Linked DNA regions of Homo sapiens: region 2 is linked to region 1. The links are contacts of gene promoters, found by promoter capture Hi-C in blood cells and fetal thymus (Javierre and others, 2016). All regions are on one chromosome and are shown on one strand. Each heading gives the region's core, a stretch centred on a gene start or on the middle of the fragment in contact. The rest is flanking DNA. Distances are from core to core; before and after follow the strand shown. Region 1 holds the start of SORT1 (sortilin 1). Region 2 overlaps SORT1 (sortilin 1).

The links. The method cuts DNA at HindIII sites, captures the fragments that hold promoters and counts their contacts. A CHiCAGO score of 5 or more calls a contact.
Region 2: a contact is called between a fragment that was not itself captured here and the fragment with the promoter of SORT1 in region 1, in 4 of 17 cell types (M2 macrophages, M0 macrophages, M1 macrophages and 1 more). The highest score is 6.8, in M2 macrophages.

Annotation. Positions count from the first base shown.
Region 1 is chr1:109,396,192-109,400,179 of GRCh38, forward strand. SORT1 (sortilin 1) reads right to left here and starts at 1,727. Exons shown (of 20, transcript NM_002959.7): 1 at 1,396-1,727. The coding sequence starts at 1,701. PSMA5 (proteasome 20S subunit alpha 5) reads right to left here. Exons shown (of 9, transcript NM_002790.4): 9 at 2,851-3,988. RefSeq lists silencers at 1,504-1,603, 1,614-1,683, 1,724-1,853 and an enhancer at 1,880-2,861. The HindIII fragment of the contact is 10,275 bases long and covers 1-2,754 here.
Region 2 is chr1:109,316,504-109,320,571 of GRCh38, forward strand. It overlaps SORT1 (sortilin 1), which reads right to left. Exons shown (of 20, transcript NM_002959.7): 16 at 1,350-1,466; 17 at 347-455. Among named protein-coding and RNA genes, the nearest start is that of MYBPHL, 12 kb to the left of the region's middle. The HindIII fragment of the contact is 1,422 bases long and covers 550-1,971 here.

The sequences.
Region 1 (3,988 bases), core at 477-2,976:
AAAAGAAAAACAGGAGTAAATCTAAATCCAGGAGTAGCAGCAGACCTAAAGTTAGGTCAACCAGCGAGAGAAGAATTTGAAATATGGAGCAAGAATGCTGTGACCAGCTAGCTCAAGGAAGGAAGTGGTCCAGTATAAATTAAGCATTAGTGTTGTAAAGCCTTTCTCAATCCCCCACTGTGAGAAGGAAGTCTATTCGATTTTTTTTTCTCATCAAGTAGGAAGACTTCCCAGTACTCATTCTACCCAACCTGTCTCACCCTCCAGCACTAGCTTGGCTACCTTTACACAGCTGCTGCTCGGGATACACTAAGCACAATTATTCCTGAATATTTGTGTCTTGTGTCCTCAGATCAGAGAATTCTATTACAGGTAACAAGTATGGTCCAGATAACCAGGCAGTCCAAAGGGAGACTGAGGCTTGGCTGACGCTGAAAAACGGTTACAGAAGGACAAGTGCTGGCACAGAGCCTTGGCCACCCATCTCTGCCCCCAAGTGCAATTCATTTTCTTTGAAAGAGGAAAACAGGCAAGGGAGAAAATATATAGAATTGAAAATACATTATGCAAATGTGGCTAGCAAGGATTAAATTGTTAATTTTAGAGAAATAGGAGAAAGATGCCCAAGTTGTGCTGAAGCAAGGAACCAGGACTTTCTTAATAATTAGTTTTGTCAGTCCAGTAGTGTGCAAAGGTTGAGCTGCTTGTCCCCAGGGACAGAAATCCCATAATTTTGAAAGTCTTTTGACCAAGAGCTGGCTCAAAGCAGAATATGTGCAATGCGTTTCTTAACTATTGAAAATCTTGTCACCACGGGATATAGACATGCTAGTCAGACTTCCGTACCATGACAGAAGGTCAAATCTGAAGCAGTAAAAGAGATCACATAAATATTGCCATCTCATTTCCAAGCTAGTCCCCTTAACTATTAAAACACGGTGACCAGATCGCTGCTTCGGGCCTCCTGAACTCCCGCCTCTCCCACCCGGAAAGTACTGACCCAGAGAGGACACACCTTTGCTTCTGCGCAGCCCAACTTCTGCAAGCGCTCAAGAGTTAATTACTCCTTCACCTTCCTGGGGCCTAACAGCGTTACTGGGTCCTGATTATTTATACAGACGAAAAACGATGTTCAAGAGATTTTGACAACTTAAAAAAAAAAAAAAGAATGCGGTGGAAGTCTAAGATTGCCTCCCCTATGACAAAACACAGCCCCGCCGGCCGCCCGGGCCCGACTCCGCCCGCCCGCCCGCCGCAGTTTCGGGGCTGCGGCCCGGGGGACGCGGGCGCGGCAGGGCTGGGGTCTCCTCCGGGAGTCGCGGGGCGCACGGGCCGGGAGGGGCACGCGGGCGGCACCTCGCACCCGAGCGGCTCCCGGGCCCGGCGCCCGCTCACCTGGTGCGTGTTGTTGGCCAGCTTGGCGACGAAGTCCCGGACCCGGCCGCACTCCTCGTCCTCGCCCGGCGCGCTGCGACGCCAACGGCCGCCGCGGGGAAACGCGCCCCCGGCTGCGGCCGCCCGCAGCCCCCAGCTCACCCCGATGGGGCCAGACCAGCGCGGCAGCGGCGCAGCGGGCGGCGGCGGCGCGTCCAGCCGGTCCTGGCTGAGGGTCGACGGCGGCAGCAGCTGCAGGAGGAGGAGGAGGCCGAGGCCATGGGGCCAGCGCGAGAGGCCGTCCGCAGCTCCCCAGGGCCGCTCCATCGCCGCCGAATGCCGCCGACGCCGACACCTGCCGCCCGGCGCGCCCGCCCACCCCCGCCGGCGCGCGCCACACCCCCGAGCCGAGCGCGGCGCTCCTTGGATACGCGCGGCCGGGCCTCTCCGCCCCATAGGCTGGCCGCCTGTCCCTCTTCCCCGGCCCACTCCTCATTGGCTCGCGTCGCCTCCGGCTTCGGGGGTCCTGGATTCGGATGCTAAGATGCGGGACTGATTGGCTGGAACGGGGCAGAGACTGCTGAGGTCAACCCCGCCTCGCCCGGCGTCTCCCGGGCCCGGCTTGTGGAGTTCACGTAGGAGCTTCTCATACCTTCCCGCCGAGCCCCGGGCTCCTGGCGTCGCGACCCCTTGCCGCACCTCTAGCGCCCTCAAGTTGGGGCTGGGTTACGTCCCTCCTGTTCCCCAGAGACACTCCTAAAATTCCTTCGGTGAGGCAGAGCCTGGAAAAACCTACCCAGGAAATCCCTGAGCTTGCTCAGCTGGAAAAGGGGGCTCCATCATGAACCGGGGCTTCGGGTTTTTATAAACCCCGCTCACTGGAGCGCCCATTGTCTGCTAAGCAGCTGCCTTGCTGCAAGAAGGTGAATGCGAACTGATGTGGGCCACATCCTACGGAGACAGACATCAGGACATCCGTGACTCCTGCAAGCCTGAAGAATAGTCTTTCCATACGTTTGGCCTCTCTCACCTTCCTCTTCTGAGGGGAGGTAGGCCAAAGGCGGAATTACTTACAGGTTTTCCAGGACTTCGAATGTAGCTTAGGCATTAGGGGCAGGTAAAAGAGGGGCAAGAGAATGATCCAATGCCTACTGTACACATGATCATTTCCTAGATGCACATTTATTTTACCAAAGTGCCTTAACTCTGCAGTGAGAGCTTCGGACAAGTTTGGTTCCAGTATGTGATGTCCTCTAAATTAGCACCCCGATCCACCTCTAATGAATAAAATAAAACCCCTACGCTGTTCCCTTTACCGCAGAAGCTGCACACACAACTTCTACAACACGTAGCACAGGTAAAACCAGTTCTGAATCCTTAAGCTTACTGACTCCATCCCTTCAGAAAGCTAGAAATTGTTCAGTAGAAAAGGTAGCAAATAGAAAGATACAAAATATGCAAGTCATTACACTCAAAGCAAGTAAAGATTACTTTTAATTATAAACTGGCCATAAACCCAAATGAGGATATAGTCATTGTAGAGCAAAATGATACAATGCACCCAACCCGATATTTACATTAAAATATTTCCAGTCACATTAACTTTCAAACAAAAAGACTTAACGAATTTACAAATTTTTCCAAGACGTGAGAAGTGAAAAATGTTTTTGAATGCCATCTGAGCAGGATAGTAAAATCACTAGAATAGTCTTTTTAAGTTCTCAGTTACTGGACTGAAAAGATAAAGCTGATGAAAATTGGTGAACAATTTGTTCCTTTCCATAACTACTATCAGATTAATTTAAAAAAGATTATTTTTAAATCTATGCCAACTATGGGAGTAGATCACAAGACAGTCAGTTCCAGTAGCATGTGATTAGGTGGGGGGAGGAAAGGGGGTTATAAAGGAATATTTCTTTGTTTGGGTGACACAAAGATGAATGGTCTATTGTCTTACTGTCTGAAAAGAAAAAACAACTCAACAGTGCCACCTCCTGGAGAAATTACCAAATACACTTTTAAACGCTATTAAATTTGTTCCAATTATCTGTACCTTCACTTTTTAGTATGTTGCTTTTAGTTATCACAGGCTTACAGTACTTATATATTTCCTTCTTCAAACTGTATCAGCTTCTGGGACATGGTAACTTGCATATGGCACTGAGAAAATGTTTGAGTGAATATATTTATTATTTCACTTTTTAAATTGGAAACCCTAGGAACTATATTTCATTTTTGTCTAATGAGATTGACATTAAATATAAAAGTGGCACTGTCAGTTCTCCTTTGTGAGATACTGGACATAAGATTTCACCTTATTTGCAGGACTAAAGTAAATTTATCTTATTACTAAAAACCGTACCTTTCTCCAGGAAACATTCTATAGCAGAAAGATAACATAAAGCAATTACACATCATGAAACCATTGCTGTTCGTAGTAAGATCACTTCTTTAACCTAAGAAAGCTTGTTTTAATATTCTACAAAAAAATCAAAGTTCTACCTCTTTGAAGAATGCCAATTATAGAAGGTACGAAATTTACTGTTTTACCAGGTAAAACACAAATATGCTGCCCAGCCAGTGGGAGGGAAAACAACTTAAGCTGAGGCGAACG
Region 2 (4,068 bases), core at 11-2,510, 80 kb before region 1:
TTACAGGTGTGAGCCACTGTACCCAGCCCACAGACAACCTTTTTGTTTTCCTAAATGACTCTCAGCCTCAGAAATTTCCACAACTGTATGATTTTAAGAATTTTACAACTTTACAGAATATCATCCCCCAACCCTCAATAAGAAAAGAGCTTTCAGTAGGGTGAGCTTATCACTGGGTTACATGACCCATCCTTCATGCTAACAGCTTCCTGTATAAGGGAAGCCTGAGAGAAGTAGTTTGACCACTTTTTATCAGTAACAAAACTCTTGATGCTTTAACTTTGATTTTTCTTAGCAGAACACAAAATCCCATTTGTACCTGAAAACTAGACCTATTTTAACATACCTGTTTTTCCGGACTCAAAAAGTTGCTTGTGCATTTCTTTTTCAAGTCTTTTACTTCTCGAACTGGATTTACCCCACCCTGGCATTTGTCCCCTGGAATTTTCCGGTACCTACCAGGCAAAGAAGATTTGGTAACAGAAGATAAGGATGTATTCCTGGGTACCTGCCTATTTCTTGGAAACAAGATTTGAAAAGCTGCCGAAAAGCTTCCCATCCTTACGTCATGTTTCAGGCCTGGGGGGAATGTCCACAGGGATGTTTTGGGGGATATTTTGTGTAGTTTCAGGCCTTAAGCAAACTAAGCATCTCTGTCCCCTGCTGTCAGAAACATGCCTGTTCTTTCTACCTAAGAGACTGTGCCAAAGAAATCTGACCCCAAAAAAGCTCATTAACAAGTGGTACAAAATGGGAGAGGGGAAGTTATCAGGGGAGCGAGGTAATGAGGCCCGTCTAGAGCAGCACTGTCCAATATGGTGGCTACTTAAAATTGATTAAAACGAAAATTTCAGTTCCTCGGTTACACTAGTGTCCACAGCTATGTGTGGCTAGTGACTATCATATTGGGCACAGCAAATTACAGAACACTTCCATCACCAAAGAAAGTCCTATCAGACAGAGCTCTCCCTGGCTGTGCCTAAACTGTGCCAGACGAGCGATGGACGTTCATGGCGGATGGGACGCTTCTGTCATTCTGCCTGTGGGTCCCTCGCCTCTCCTCCCTTCCTGGGGGTGGTTGGGCGGGAGGCAGGGGTGCAGGATCTGGCCGAGCTTGTTCTCCTGCTCTGCCTCGTGGTGTTGGTGGGGTTGAGTCCTCTGACACCAAGCACTCATGGCTCACCTCCTGTAGTTGACCCTTGAAGGAGGCCTTCATATCCTGCCCCTCCCCAACCCCGCCAAAAATAGTGCTCTAAAGTAGGGCTTGGATCTCAGTGTGGAGAGAAGCAGCTTTCACTCTGAACAAGAACACCTCATCCATCGTGACAAGGGAGAAAAGGCCACCTCACCCATTTGTTGTTAGGTGTTCTTCTCTTCCGTACAGACAAAACTCCAGGTCGTGGCCCTTCAGTTCTGGCTGTTCCACACACTTGGAGTCATTTTCTGGACGGTAGTAGCCAAAATCACTGCAAGAGTCAGCAAATAAAGTACCTTTCAAAGCAGCTGGAAGACCGTTAAGTGACTAGCAATGAAGGGTTATGTGGGGTAGTGGATGGTTAACATTCCAGTCTTGGGTTGTTAGAAAGTAGCTCAGGAAGTCCTGTGACACCTCTGAAGGAGGTCGATTTAGGAAAACAGACACGGAGAGGGCCTTTTTTTTTTTTTTTTGAGATGGAGTCCCACTCTCTCGCCTAGGCTGGAGTGCAGTGGCGTGTTCTTGGCTCACTGCAACCTCCGCCTCCGGCTTCAAGCGACTCTCCTGCCTCAGCCTTCTGAGTAGCTGGGATTACAGGTGCATGCCACCATGCCTGGCTAATTTTTTATTTTTAGTAGAGAGAGCGTTTCACCATGTTGGTCAGGCTGGTCTCAAACTCCTGACCTTGTGATACGCCCACCTCGGCCTCCAAAAGTGCTGGGATTACAGGTGTGAGCCACCGTGCCCCGCCAGAGAGGGCCTTATTAAGGAAAAGAAGCTTATGGGTCAGGCCTGGTGGGGGTAGGACTAGCTAGGGCCCCAAGGCTGTGCACTGCAGGCAGCTCAGGCGCAGGGAGGTGACTGATGCAGCCTGCAGAGGGGTGGAGACTCACACAGAAACCTCAGCATCAGCAGCAGCTCTCAACTCAGGGATACTTGGCAATTCTTTTCTTTTCTTCCCCCTCCCCGCTTTTTTTTTGAGACAGGGTCTCGCTCTGTTGCCCAGGCTGGAGTACAGCGGCATGAACACTGTAGCTTCAACCATCTGGGCTCAAGTGATCTTTCCGCTTCAGCCTCCCAAGGAGCTGGAACCACATGCATGCACCACCATGCTCGTCTAATTCTTTGTAAAGATGAGGTCTTGACAAATTGCTCAGGCTTGTTTTGAACTACTGGGCTCAAGTGATCTGTCCACCTCAGCCTCCCAAAGTGCTGGCATTACAGGCGTGAACCACTGTGCCTTGCTAATTTTTGTATTTTCTGTAGAAAGAGTTTTGCCATATTGCCCAGCCTGATCTCAAACTCCTGAGCTCAAGAGATCCACCTGCCTCAGCCTCCCGAAGTATTGGGATTACAGGCATGAGTCACTGTGCCCAGCCAGCAATTCTTTTCTTTACCTCCAAATGTCATTATTATGTTGCCCTTGCAGTACACGGCAAATTTTTCTGTCTTCCCCACTTCTGTTCCTCTTAGCTTCTTAGATAGTCTTTGCCTTCCATGTGAACACCTTTTTCTGTCCTCCATTCTACCCCATCTCTCCATAGTGCCACCCACTGCTCTCCTTTTCCTGTTTACCCCAAAGAAACAATGTCTGCTGACAATCTCCAGGGCTGACTCCATGAGCATCCTTGGTTCCCCTCCTCCGACCTGCCCTGGGGCCTTGCTTCCCTGAGTATGAGGGGAACAATCAATCTCTCCCACTCAGCTGGCAGCGTCTCCTTAGCCTGCATGTCTTGACCTTAGAAATTACTTCCTTAACCCACCTCTCCCTTACTACCCACATTTCTCAAAAGAATATTTTTTTACTTGTCCTATTTTACTCATTTATTTTTTCTTCCACGCATTTTGGCTTTGACCCCTTCTGCAACTTTGAAAATAAGTGTCTGGGCCGGGCGTGGTGGCTCATGCCTATAATCCTAGCACTTGGGAGGCCGAGGCAGGCGGATTACCTGAAGTCAAGAGTTCAATACCAGCCTGGCCAACATGGTGAAACCCCGTCTTTACTAGAAATACAAAAAATTAGCCAGGTGCAGTGGTGTGTGCCTATAATCCCAGCTACTCGGGAGGCTGAGGCAGAAGAATCGCTTGAACCCGGGAGGTGGAGGTTGCAGTGAGCTGAGATCGCACCACTGTACTCCGGCCTGGGCGACAGCACGAGACTCCGTCTCAAAAAAAAAAAAAAGAAAAGAAAAGAAAATGAGTGTCTGCAGTGCCCCTAAGGCTCAATAATCATCAAATTCAGTGGAGCCCTCTCGGGTCTCATTCCCCCAGACCACCCATTCTGCAGCATCTGACATACTGTTGTGCCCCTGCCAACCTTGGCATTGGTAAAGCTGCACTCATCTGTTTCTCTGCCCTCTGCTGCCCCCGCCACTGCTTGCTCTTCTTTCTTCCTAACCCATAAATGTAGTCTTTTGCCGGGGGCAGGGGGCAGGTATAATGCATTCTCTTACTTTTTCTCTATCTGCTCTCCCTTAGTGATCACAACTATTTTTGGTTGCAACTAAAACTTCCAGGTTTTACCTCTCTTGAGTTCTAATCCTATATTTCAAATACATGCTGGATATCCCACCTAAATATGCTGACAAAACCTCAAAGAAATAAGATGTTCAAAATACATCATGTTTTCTCCTTTGTGCCAGGCTCTCCTTATCATTTCCGTATTCGTCCATGACATTACCTTCCTTCCCACTATCTCAGTGGAAAATTTAGCCTGAGGATCCTCCTTCTGGGCCCTACTTACTTCTTTATCATGACTACTGTGACTTCCCCAATGGCCTATCTTCCAGGACACCCTTCCTTGATCATGCTGTTGGTGTCTCTGCTTGCAGCAGTCCACTGGCATTGATGAGCTGCTTCTTCCCAGATGCTCA